Regions from separate parts of the Homo sapiens genome. Here region 2 is linked to region 1. Evidence: promoter capture Hi-C in human tissues and cell types (Jung and others, 2019). All regions are on one chromosome and are shown on one strand. Each heading gives the region's core, a stretch centred on a gene start or on the middle of the fragment in contact. The rest is flanking DNA. Distances are from core to core; before and after follow the strand shown.

Region 1 (6,576 bases), core at 3,476-5,975:
ACATTTTAGAGAATTATATGAGAATCAAATGTGGTAATTTGTTGAAGGATTATGCTACAGTGCCTAGATGAAATAGGAATCACATTAATATCGTTTCCTCTCAGAATCCCTATGGGCTAAGTGAAATTAAACTAAAAGCTAGATGAATTTACGCAACTCTTTCCTCTCTGTTTAGGAGACTGTAATAAGTCTGTACTGATCCTAGGGCAAATCCTATTGGTTTGGGAATCATTCTTTGAATAAGAAAAGCTTATTTTCTTGACTTCTGTCTCCACTCTTCAAATTGGGAACCGAAAACAATGGTGAATTTATAAGTGTTTAAGTTGATCAGCTATATCTAAATCCAGCACTTCCATTTTGTCTTACTGAACTGAAACTCTAAGCCTGTTGCAAACCCATTAATGAGAGGAACTATAGAACCAATGTGTAGGAAGAAGGATATAAAGCCAAAAGAAGCAGTTAAAATGACACAATTCTATCAGTGGTTTGTTGGGTTTTTTTAAACCTTAAATTCATGTATTAAACTCTAAGAAAACAAGTGTTCAGGAAAACAAAGACTGTATCTCCACCATTCAGGGTGGGTTAGTAACTTGATCCTTCAGGTTAAGCAAATACCACCTTTCAGTACATACAGTTTCAGTTTCCATCAGTGACAATCCAGTCATTTCCAAGATAGGAACACACCTACCAAGGTGGCTCTTACCAAGTAGGGACTGAAATAAGACTATCTTCTCTCCTACCCCAAGTTCAGACTAGCCTACCCACATTTTCCTGAGTATTAGCTCATTTCAGTTGAATGCTTGTCCCCACTAATTATAAAAATAATGCTCACTTTTTTTTTTTTTTTTGAGACAGGGTCTCACTTTGTCACTTAGGCTGGAGTACAGCGGCATGATCAAGGTTCACTGCAGCCTCAACCTCCCAGGCTCCCATCTCAGCCCCCCAAGTAGCTGGGATTACAGGTGTGCACACCACCTTGCCCAACTAATTTTTTTTTTTTTTTTGGATAGAAAAGGGGTTTTGCCATGTTGCCCAGGCTGCTCTTGAACTCTTGAGCTCAGGCGGTCTGCCTGCTCATTTTTTTAAATTTGAAAAAACTAAAAAGTGCAAGCATTTTAAAGCATCCATGATCTTCCAGCCAAAGATTAAAACATTACAAGGGGTCATACCATCATCTTTCCTATGAATCTGACCATAACTGTGAAAATATTTAAATTTGTATAGAGTACCTGCCACTAAACACAATTAACTACCAGCCCAAACATTAATATCTTCATTCCAGCTTTCTTGTGACTAAATTCACATTACTTTTTTACTTACTTAACTCAATGGTTTCTTCTCAATCGTTCTGAGTCTCTCAGCTATATACTTTGTTGCTAACCACCACCTCTTTAAAACTCTATCCCAGGTTTCTCTAAACAGTGTATTCCTCAGTATCTACAGAAATCTCTCCAACTAATCTTTTTCTTTCTTCACTGGCTCTTCTTACATAAACTGACAATCTCTAGAAAATAGATGAGGTCTGACTTGAATTTTCTTGTCAATATTGAACACCCAGCACTTACTACAGTGCCTGGCATCAAGCAGATGCTCAATTAACATTTACTGACTGATTCTGCCAATCCTGACCTGTCCCCTCCTAGCTGTGTGACCTTGGGCAAGTTATATCTCTCTGAGTCTTATCTCCCTCATCTATAAAATACAGATAATCAGAAGATGAGATAATATTTGGAAGGTTCAAAACAGTGTCTGCCACAAAGTAGCACCCAATAAATTTTGCTATTATTATCAATATACTCTAGCACAGGACTCAAAAATGTTTCCAACTTATGATATATGGTTGACTGTTAAACCTACCTCTCAATAACCTTACTTTCACTTCATTCTCCTATAACTATCAAATATTTTATGCTCTTTCCTTTACTACCTATCTCCAATCCATTATCAACTGTTAATTTTCTCTCCTAACCAACATAAAAAATTATTTATCAGCTAAGCTGCAACATAGCCTTGGTTGATTTCCAAACCCCTAAATCTTCATTCGAATCTTCAATCATCCTTAAAAACCATTTTTAATTTGTCACTCTTGTCCACAGTTGCTTATACCAAGTACAAACTACTGGAATGTCATCCTCATGTCTTGTAATAACCCACATCCCAACTTCTAGTTCACATGATGGCTCAAAACTCACCTCTTTCAGGAAACCTTCCCTGATTCACTCCACGCCACTCAGATTACTTCTCTACTGCAAGTCGCCTCAGCACTTAGGTATTGTTATACTAAGGGCAAATGTGATCACAGTAAACAGCATCACTAAGAAATCGCTTTCACAAAATTGTTTCTAGATCATAAATAATGGTCCATTAGTTAAAATGCTTTGCTGATCTGGTTAACAAGCAAACATGTTACACAGCAAATGCTCTCTTTGGCTTCTGTCCTTGACTCTATAACTCTTCACAAACCTTTTGTCCTATCCTCAAACAGAAACTCTATCTCCCATTTAAATACACTGGAAATATGGTAGTGGGCCACCTTCTTTTCTACTACCTCTTCTCTGACCTCAGTCTCTGCCTCCAGCCTCTATCCACACCCCATAAATAAAAATTCCAAAAGCTTCAAATAGAATAGCAGTGATGCATACATACCATGTCTTTCCTGAGTGAAAAAAAAAAAAAAACCCTCAAGCTACTTAGCTACAAAATTCTTCACAAGGGTAATAAATTTCCCAACAAGCCTAATACATAATCAAACTCCAGAAAATTTATGTGGAATTTTTATGGATAAATTTATGGAATAATTTTGGCCGGCGCGGCAGCTAACGCCTGTAATCCCAGCACTTTGGGAGGCCGAGGCGGATGGATCTCTTGAAGTCAGGGGTTCGAGACCAGCCTGGCCAATATGGTGAAACCCCGCCTCTACTAAAAATACAAAAATTAGCCGGTGCGGTGGGGCATGTCTCTGTAGTCCCAACTACTCGAGAGGCTGAGGCAAGAGCTGATCACTTGAACCTGGGAGGTGGAGGTTGCAGCGAGCCAAGATCGCGTCACTGCACTCCAGCCTGGGCAACAAAGCGAGACACACACACACAAATTTATAAAATAAAAACAAAACAAAACAAAAATTATAAAATAATTTTATGGAAAATGTATGGAATAACAGGGCCTGGGTGGGGTGGCTCACCCCTGTAATCCCAAGCCTTTGAGAGGCCACGGTGGAAAGATCTCTTGGGCCGAGGAGTTTGAGGCTGGAACGAGCTATGATCTCGCCACTGCACTCCAGCCTGGGCGACAGCAAACCCTGTCTCTGTTTACTTTTTAAATTAATTTGAAAAAAATACATCAGGATTGTACTTATACGTTAATTCTCACTTGTATTACTGTAAGAGATCTTGCATCATTTTTATGCTATATTACACATGCCCAACATGACAGCTGAGAAACTCCCCTGGAGGGCAGATTTTCTGAGAGTATCTTCTGATGTTGTCTTTAAACCAACACTTTTTTTTTTAACATAAAGAATTAAGGGATTCCTGACTGCCATCTAGTCAAAAGCAAACAATATGTATGCCATTACTTCGGAGGGAGTGAGTTCTTGTGCTGCTGAGGCAAAACGAGATGAACTGTCACAGGGATGGCAGGAGGGGTGGAGTGTAGGAGGAGGATCAGCCCCAGTAGTGAGAATTAAAAACTCTTTTGAGTATTTGGCCCTCCACTAGCAGTAAATTAACCTTCAAACCTGACCAAGACACTACCTGAGACCCTCCACTCTCCGACACCGCAGAATCAGACAACTGTTCTTGCTCAACTACTCATAAAAGATTCACAGCCTTCACCTACCACACATAAATCTACCGCGTTTGCTGCTTGTATACTTTGTCCTAACAGACCAACTAATGCCTTCTAGTCCAATAGCCTCCCGTCCACACCTCACATAAAACCTTCTCAGCCACCTTCCGGTTTCAGTAGGTGCCTCTTACTCCAGATCCACGTGTCCCCAGTTCTCCAGAGACCTTCACCTTCAAAACCCAAGCCCGTCCCCCCTTCACTCCCAGCTGATCTCCACCCAGGCCCTATCAATCCTTACTTCTAATAGGCCAACCACACTCCCCGGCCCCGCGCCTTCTCCCTCAGCACCCTTTTCTGAGCATCACCTATTTCCCACCACTTTCTTCCTCCCCAGACCCGGAATCCTGCAATCACTAGGCCTCCCTTTGCCGCTACCCTCCCGCGAGCACGCGGAGCCCGCTGCTCGGCTAACCACCCCGCCCCACCTTCGCCACCTCTAGCGGCCTCCCACCCCAGGCGGCTCCCCGGGCTCCGCGGCTGCAAACCAGGCCCCACCGTACGTCCCCCACGCGGTCCCGGCCCTGTGAAGGGCGGCGGCGGGGCAAAGAGGGGCAGAGACCACCCGGGGTGAGGCGGGCGCCCTCACTTCTGGGCGTACCCGGGCGGGGGCGGGGGCGGGACGGCTGGTCGGCGCCCCCGCCTCGGCCAGGCCTGCAGCCCGAGCTCCCGCAACCACTTCCCGAGCCAGGCGAGGAGGAGCCCGCAGCCCGGCCGCTCCCGCTGGCGCACCCCCTTCTCACCTAGACGCAGAGGCTCAGGCCTCGCTCTCCCACTGGCCGTCCAGCAATAGCTGCGCCGCCGCCGCCGCCGCCGTCGCGCTCTCTTCACTCGCTTTTCCACCGCCCGCGACCGGCTGCTGAAGAGCGGACGGGCAGTGGCACGCCCATTGGCTGAGGCCCGCAGTCGCGTCAGCCGGCCCCGACCGCACCTCGCGACGTGACTGGCTGGAGCGGCGCCTCTTTTCGACATCCGCTTTTGATTGGCTCTCGCGCACACCCTTATCCGCAGGACCAGTCATCCTCCTCCCTGCTTTAGCCTCTCACCCCCAACCCGGTTTCCCTCCGGGCGGGAGTGGGGCGGGAGCGGACGCCCGCGGAACGCGAACGGCCAATGGGGGCGCGGAGAGAGGGCCGGGAGGTGGGCCCTGCGGCCGGGAGGCTCGCGGGGGAATGCTCAGCCAATGGGCCCGCGCCCCACATCTCGAGTCCTGGAGCGCCCCCGCCGGCTGCTGGCGTCCTGTCGGGTCGCGCCCAGGGCCACGCCCGGCTGTCCGTCGCGCGGGAGGGGCGCCAACTCCCAAGGTTGGGAGCACGCAGCGAGGCCCGCGCGGGAGACAGCGGGGCTGCCATTGTGGCGTGCTTAGCGCTATTATGGTGGGGCCCGGGGGCCCTCCGGCCATTGCTGGGCGTGAGGGATCCGTTCGGAGAACTACCAGCTTGGCGGGTGTGGCCCGGGTCGGTGAGAGCGAAGAGCTCTACGGACCCCTGGAGCCTCCACGGGTCTCGCCCAGTCCCAGGGGACTGTGGGCCCATTCATTCCACCTTCCACTTCCTCCAAAATAATTCCCTACAAAACTTACCGGTAGTGATAGGAGTTAGAATAACGTTTACTTCTGAGGGGTGGGGCACGAGGGAACCTATGGAAAGCTGGAAACATTGCGTCTTGATCCTGGTGGTCGTTCCGGGCTGTGTACACATGGAGGAATTCATCGAGCCGGACACTTAATAGTATTACCACATTCATACGGCTCATTTTTAAAAAATAATAAAAGGATCATGAGAATTCTGTAATAATATTACCACAATCTTTGGGCTCCGTGGGACTCCATTGTATAAACAGTCCGCATTAGGATTTAGCTGTCATTCAAAACATGCAAGCCATAGGAAGAAAAAAAAAGATTTGTGAGAAGCAAAAATGAGTGAACGCTCTTGGCACGGTGAATAGCATGCACAGGTTGGTATTTAGGGATGGATGGCTCAGAGTGATTTTTCTGTGGGGATTTAGAGCTTGTTTCAGTGCCTGGCCCTGTTAGTAGCTAAAAGCAGTCATAGTGCTGCATCCAGTTGGAAACTACAAAAGCTCACTGAACTGCCTACTTTGTGGCAGATGTTAAGTTCTGGCTCAGGAAACTAATTTGAATGCCATGGCTTCTGCCTCGATGAGCTCACAGTCTTGCAGCAAGTACTGTCATTTCTGGAGGAGGGCACAGAACACAAAGCTAACACACTTGCTTACCCTCAGGGATGTCGCATTCCGCTACTTTAGGCAAGACAGTGTATGCCTGGAACCCATCCAGTCCAATAGCCATAGTCATAAATAGCCAGGATCAGGTGAAACACTTCTTAGAAGTGGGTCAAAATATTCTCCCAAAACAAACGTAAGAACTATGGACCAAATTCTAATCTGTAAAAGAACACAAGCAACAAAACAAAGATTACAGTATTCATATTTATTAATTTAGTCATTAAGTTGTTTAAATCAGGTAAATGCCTTTATTTAAAGTGCTTGTCACTACACTAGGCATATAAACTTGGATATGACAGTATTCCACAGAACATAGGGTTTAATGGAGAGACAGACATAAACAATGCCAGTGTAATACAGGATGAGGGAATACCTAGAAAGAGGATGTAACCCAGCATGGGGGATTCAGGAGCATGTTAGAACATGTGTAGCTAAGTTAACCACTGCTAAGGTTTATCAGTATACTGATAGGGTAATATCACTATA
Region 2 (6,981 bases), core at 3,439-5,938, 870 kb before region 1:
TCCTAAAAGCCTGTCTAGTTCACTGTGTTTTTCAGAGGGAAAAATCCTGAGGACTGGATCCAACTGGGAGGAGTGTCACCCAGGGTGGCCTGAGACAACGTAGCTGGATGGAGAGTTCCAGTTTTCATCATCTTAGTTGCAAAAAGACAAGGTCACCCACAGAAGGCAACTTTGTGCATTTGTGGGCCAGGCAAATGCAGAGAGCAAGTAGGGAAGCTGAAAACAAGGGAGTGAAGATCTGAACAGAGCTGGGTGGGTAGAGAGGGTCAAGGGAAACATTTCAGTTCTGAAGCCACAAATGGAAACCCTGTGCCAGAGTGCCCCTTTTATGTTAGTGGTGGAGAGAGGTTCCTGCTGCTTAGAGTAGTCACGCAGCACTACAGGCTAAATGCTGCAAATCTATAGTGATATCAGGTCTATTTTTATTCTCTCATTTATATGTTTCCTTTTTATCTTAGCCATATAGGATTTTTTTATCCTTTATCTTCCTCCTGTGGGTCCTGTTGTTGTTTTTTTTTTCTTTGTTTGTTTGTTTGAGACGGAGTCTCGCTCTGTCACCCAGGCTGGAGTGCAGTGGCGCAATCTCGGCTCACTGCAAGCTCCACCTCCCAGGTTCACGCCATTCTCCTGCCTCAGCCTCCTGAGTAGCTGGGACTATAGGCGCCTGCCACCACGCCCGGCTAATTCTGTTTTTGTATTTTTAGTAGAGACGGGGTTTCACCATGTTAGCCAGGATGGTCTCCATCTCCTGACTTCGTGATCCGCCCGTCTCGCCCTCCCAAAGTGCTGGGATTACAGGCGTGAGCCACCGCACCCGGCCCGTGGGTCCTGTTCTTAAGCTCCACTCTTTATAACTCTAGTTTGTTTTGGTTTTTAAAATTATTTTTTTCTTCCTTTTTTTCCTTTAAGAGCTTTCTAAAAGCTGGCACTTTGGTAGATTTCTTTTTTTTCTTTGTTCACGTAGTCTGATCTGGAAGCCAGGACTTTATGTTGGCCTGGATTTGTCAGGTCTCTAATCAACTCTGTGTAAAGTGGAATAGCTTGGCAACAGGCATAATAATAATAATTAAAAATAACAGTGACTGCAGAACTAAGACATGAGATTCAAAAATAAGGGGGAAAGTGACACAGAGTCATAGGCTTTCATCTGAAAATATCTCATTCCGGCCAACTGAGAAGCACCCTTGCAAATCAGTTAGAATATCTCTCTGTGTAGAAAAGGAAAGCCAGAGAGAAATGTTGCCTTCAAGTGTAGTTTGCCTGTGTATTACCTTCTGTTGAAATTCCCACAGACAAATAAGCCTTTGAGAACCCATAAGAAAACAATGGCTGCCACTAGTAAGATTTCCAAAGGTACTTTTAAAACATGGAGTAGATTTGTTTTTCTGTCCCAACGACTTCAGAGAAGTTCCCACTTAAATCCATGCATGGTCATTTTATATCTGCCATTACATATTCTTGTTTGCTAAATGTAAGTCTTGTCAATGAGTTATTTTAAAAAGTACTTTTTGAAATTACGCACACCCCAAACAACAGAACTGCTGTGTGTATACAAATGCTCTGGAAAGGCAGAAGTCAGGTACTGGGTGTAGGCACAGGACAGACCGCATGGTCTGCCTTGGCAGCCCTGTCCTCACCTGCAAGCTGCCCACACACACTCCCTTCCAAACGGTGCTCCCTCTGATGCCACTTGGCTGACTGAGCTACTGTGGGAGGAAGCCTGTGAAGGGGTTGGTGGTAGTGATGTGAATAAATATTTTATAAACTAAACTTCAAGTATAAAACTTGATTTACCCTTTCAACCAAATTCACATGGGAAGTCCCACTTCTTCTTAAAAATCTTGGACATTCAAGAGTTAAGGGATATGGAAGCTGGCGTAGCATGGGGCTGTCATCCAAGACCAGCTGAAAAGGCAGCAGGAAGGGTTTGGTTCTGGCTAGGCTACAGACAGGCCATCTGGATGCAGGGAAGGCCTAGAATGCCAGAAGCAGCTTTTCTTTTTGATTTTAGACTTCATCGAGTCCAGCCTGGGAAAAGTCTTTAGTTTAAGACCCAAACCGAGAGTCTTCTTTAAACAGGGATTCAATATTTGAATTTTATATAAAACAAACATCCACTACACGTATTCTTTTTGGCAAAGAAGGTTGGAGACAGCAATGTACACACAATTAAACATACTTAGAAAAAAATGTAGACCAGATTCACTAGACTTATAAATACATAGGAACTATGTGTAGTTTTTAAGTAATTTTGCTAGGAATAAATATTGAAAGATTGCCTGAAAAAAAATTTTTTTATATTATACCCCCTCAGTTACTTTTATGAATAATTATTTCGTTGTTTTTCCCATAGTTCACATTAAAAAGCAATTTTAGGCCAGGCGCGGTGGCTCACACTTGTAATCCCAGCACTTTGGGAGTCCGAGGCAGGCGGATCACTTGAGGCCAGGAGTTCGAGACCAGCCTGGCCAACATGGCAAAACCCCATCTCTACTAAAAATACAAAAGTTAGCCAGGTGTGGCAGTGCACATCTGTAATTTCAGCTACTGGGGAGGCTGAGGCATGAGAATCACTTGAACCTGGGAGATGGAAGTTGCAGGGAGCTGAGATCATGGCACTGCACTCCAGCCTGGGTGACAAAGTGATACTCTGTCTAAAAAAAAAAAAAAAAGGGTAATTTTACCACATTAAAATTGCCTTTAGGTCTTTAAAATAATTTTCCTTCTCTATTTTTATTTTATATTTAATAATGTTATATTTATAATTAATCACATTAGGCATGATGTTAGCATGGGCCAGGAAATTTTTCTTTAGTGAAACTGAAAAAAAAAAAAAACCCTGCAGGGAAGTTATAGCAACTTCCTACTCTGTATCATTCATGAACATACACTCAGTTTGGAAACCACCCTCTTTAAAAGATATGATCTATTCTTCCTTAGTTATTGCAGTATGCGTTTGATTTGTATGTGTTATTCTTAACAATTAAAGGAAAAGGTGAATGTAAATTCACTTGGACAAAACAGGAATAAAAGAATATTATCCTTAAGGGAAGTCTTACCTTAAAGAAGAGAAAATGCACGTATTTTTCTGGGCGAGGGTGGTGGGGTCAGGGAGGAAGAATTGTTTTTTCTAAATAAGGCATTAATCGCCACCTAGCAGTAGAGGAAGGAACTGCGCACTTAGTTTGCCACTGAAATTCTAGAAAACATTAGTTTTAAAGGACATATTACTTTTATTGTAAACAATATCTTAGGAATTATTGGTCTATTGGCAGACTAAGGATTGAATTTTTTCTCTCTTGTCTTGAGGAAAGATAAAGAAATAAAACAAATGAAAATATTTGGCCTATTTGTAAGCATACTCCTTCCATCATAAAATGTCTGTTCTCTTGTTGCCGTTGCCACTCCAGCAACAAGCTAAAGGAAAAGAAATTCTGAAGCCATCATGACACGAAAAAATGTTGCCTTTGGCAGGGCGCGGTGGCTCACGCCTGTAATCCCAGCACTTCGGGAGGCCGAGGCGGGCGGATCACGAGGTCAGGAGATTGAGACCATCCTGGCTAACACAGTGAAACCCCATCTCTACTAAAAATAGAAAAACAAAATTAGCCTGGCGTGGTGGCGGGCGCCTGTAGTCCCAGCTACTCGGGAGGCTGAGGCAGGAGAATGGCATGAACTCAGGAGGCGGAGCTTGCGATAAGCCGAGATCGTGCCACTGCACTCCAGCCTGGGCGACAGAGCGAGACTCCGTCTCAAAAATAAAAATAAAAAAAAATTTTTTTAAATGCTGCCTTTGTCCTATTAGAGGAAGAAATATCTGAGTTTTTTTGTTTGTTTTTCTGTTTGTTTGTTTTTTGGAGTCGGAGTCTCGCTCTTTCGCCCAGGCTGGAGTGCAGTGGCAAGATCTCTGCTCACTGCAACCTCCACCTCCCGGGTTCAAGCGATTCTCTTGCCTCAGCCTCCTGAGTAGTTGGGATTACAGGCGCTCACCACCAAGCCCGGCTAATGTTTGTATTTTTAGTAAAGACGGGGTTTCGCCATGTTGGTCAGGCTGGTTTCGAATTCTTGACCGCAGGTGATCCGCCCCCCTCGGCCTCCCAAAGTGCTGGGATTACAGGCGTGAGCCACCTCGCGCGGCCTAAGAGAGGTTTATTTTGAAAATGAGAAGACATTGGCCGGGATTAGTAATAACAGTTATTATTGTTAGTAATAATGCTTAGTATATAGTAAGGTGATCAACAAATATTTTTTGAAGGAATGAGAAATGTCTGGCTCCAAAACCTGTGCTTTTCACTATTACCTTCTATGCATATATATTGGTGGCTGAAAGTGCTTGGCTGGACACTTCAGAGTGGCTCTTATATAAAAGCCCTACTTGTGGACCAACAAAAGAGATATTTGGTTTCTTGGGGTTTTAATGGCTTTCAACTCCTCGAAGCATGATTTGGGGATTTGGATCAGGATACACCCTGATTCTTAACCAGTATTTGCAAAATTGATCAATAGAGGTATCTTGCAGGAAGAATGGAACAGAAAAACAACACTAATTCTCCAATTTAAAGACCATTATTAGTTATTTCAGGATTTTTTAGAATAAAAAAAATCCAAATAAAAGCCAAACTGAAATTTTCCCATGAATGGCCGGGTGGGGTGGCTCATGCCTGTAATCCCAGCACTTTGGGAGGCCGAGGTGGGCGCATCACCTGAGATCGGGAGTTCGAGACCAGCCTGACCAAAATGGAGAAACCCCCGTCTCTACTAAAAATACAAAAATTAGCCGGGTGTGGTGGCGCATGCTTGTAATCCCAGCTACTCGGGAAGCTGAGGCAGGAGAACCTCTTGAACCCTGGAGGCGGAGGTTGCAGTGAGCCGAGATCGTGCCATTGCACTCTAGCCTAGGCAACAAGAGCAAAACTCCGTCTCAAAAAAAAAAAAAAAAGAAAGAAAGAAAAAGAAATTTTCCCATGAACATGTAAGATTCATTGTTACTCAACTATCTAGATGACAGTCTGTAATAATTGCTTAATTTCTGGAAAAAAATATTTCTAAACAACTCAAGTGTGCCATGGCTTTTGTACAGGCCTCTCTTTTAGTCACACACTGAGGGAGGAAAATTATATTATACAGTTTAGATATAACTCTAAATTGTTATTCTTCCCAATTATGTCTATTAATTCCAGATTGCTCTATTCCAAGTGTTAGCTGTTGCCAGAAAAAAAAAAAACCTTAGCTTCTGAATAACCAGTTAAAAATAAAAAGCTTCTAAAATACCAGGGGTTTTTTTGTTTGTTTTTTGTTTTTGTTTTTCCTGAGATGGAGTCTCGTTCTGTCGCCCAAGCTGGATTGCAGTGGTGCAATCTCGGCCCACTGCAACCTCTGCCTCCTGGGTTCAAGCAATTCTCCTGCCTCAGCCTCCCGAGTAGCTGGGATTACAGGCGTCTGCCACCATGCCCGCTAATTTTGTATTTTTAGTAGAGACGGGGTTTTGCCATGTTGGCCAGGCTGGTCTTGAATTCCTGATCTCAGGAGATCTGCCTGCCTCCCAAAGTGCTGGGATTACAGGCGTGAGCCACCGCACCTGGCCTCCTATAAGCAGGTTTGTTTGTTTTTTTAATTTTTTTAAATATGCATATGTACACACGATGTATATACATGTTACACATATTGGAAAATATATTCTCAGGATATTCTCCCTTCTCCAGATGGATAGTATTGAAAGGGAAAAAACACAGTAATTAAAAAAAAAATGGTCAGCACAGTGGCTCACTCCTGTAGACCCAGCTACTCTAGAGGCTGAGGCAGGAGAGTTGCTTGAGCCCAGGAGTGAACTTTGATCACACCACTGCACTCCAGCCTGGGCAACAGAGCAAAAGCCTGTCCTAAAAATAAACAAATAAATTAAAATTAAAATTTTAAAAAGGTGGGAGTGGGTGCAGATAAGGCTAGTTTAAAGCAAGCTGTTTAAAGGCTATCAAATATTAGTCAAATAAATTATGAAACATTTATATGATGTAATACCTTATAGCTATACAGACATTTAAAGCATGTGACATGAAGAAATGTTCGTGGTTTAATGTTTACATAGAAAAGCAGGTTTAAAAAGAATCATATATAATTTGATACAAATTTTTTGTGGCAGTTTATTTTGAGATATTAATTTTTATTTTATTTTATTTATGTATGTATGTATGTATGTATTTTTGAGGCAGAGTTTTGCTCTTGTTGCCCAGTCTGGAGTGCAGTGGCACAATTTCGGCTCACTGCAACCTCCACCTCCTGGGTTCAAGTGATTCTCCTGCCTCAGCTTCCCAAGTAGCTGGGGTTACAGACATGCACCTCCATGCCCGGCTAATTTTGTATTTTTAGTAGAGATGGGGATTTCACTATTTTGGTCAGGCTGGTCTCAAACTCCTGACCTCAGGTGATCCACCCTCCTCAGCCTCCCAAAGTGCTGGGATTACAGGCATGAGCCACTGCGCCCAGCCTTGAGATATTAATTTTATGTGTTCTCCTATCCTACTACCCCTTTCTCCCATTCAAGCAAGTATCTAGACTTCAGATTTTTGTAAGGCAAAAAGCAAACACTGCTCAGAAATACCATAGGCTCTGTCTTGTGAAATGAGAAGAGGGAGGTGAAAGAGGGATTCCTCAAAAGTTAGAAGTCTGGGCCAAGCTCAGTGGCTCATGCCTGTAATCCCAGCACTTTGGGAGGCTGAGCTGGGTAGATGGCTCGAGCCCAGGAGTTCAAGACCTGCCTGGGCAACATAGTGAGACCCCGTTTCTATTAAAAAAAAAAAAGAAAAGAAAAGAAAAAAGAAAAAAACTTAGAAGTCTGAAGCCTATAGTTTGAGTGAATAGCTAAGATTCCCATCTTGTTCTGTAACAAAGCCCAGATAGTGGCAAAACCTCAAAGAGGAAAGCCACATGGGGTACCTTAGGAAGCTGTACTTGGGTGCAGGGGCTGCCACATTCACTTACTTG

Evidence for each region. The method cuts DNA at HindIII sites, captures the fragments that hold promoters and counts their contacts. A contact is called where the count stands out against the background at its distance.
Region 2: a fragment that was not itself captured here is called in contact with the fragment with the promoter of FAR1 in region 1 in 1 of the 25 tissues and cell types used here (heart left ventricle).

Annotation. Positions count from the first base shown.
Region 1 is chr11:13,666,817-13,673,392 of GRCh38, reverse strand. It overlaps FAR1 (fatty acyl-CoA reductase 1), which reads right to left and starts at 4,725. Exons shown (of 12, transcript NM_032228.6): 1 at 4,587-4,725. RefSeq lists an enhancer at 4,166-4,215 and silencers at 4,296-4,575, 4,686-5,175. The HindIII fragment of the contact is 12,577 bases long and covers 1,433-6,576 here.
Region 2 is chr11:14,533,403-14,540,383 of GRCh38, reverse strand. It overlaps a transcript of PSMA1 not described here. Among named protein-coding and RNA genes, the nearest start is that of PSMA1, 17 kb to the right of the region's middle. The HindIII fragment of the contact is 5,789 bases long and covers 1,794-6,981 here.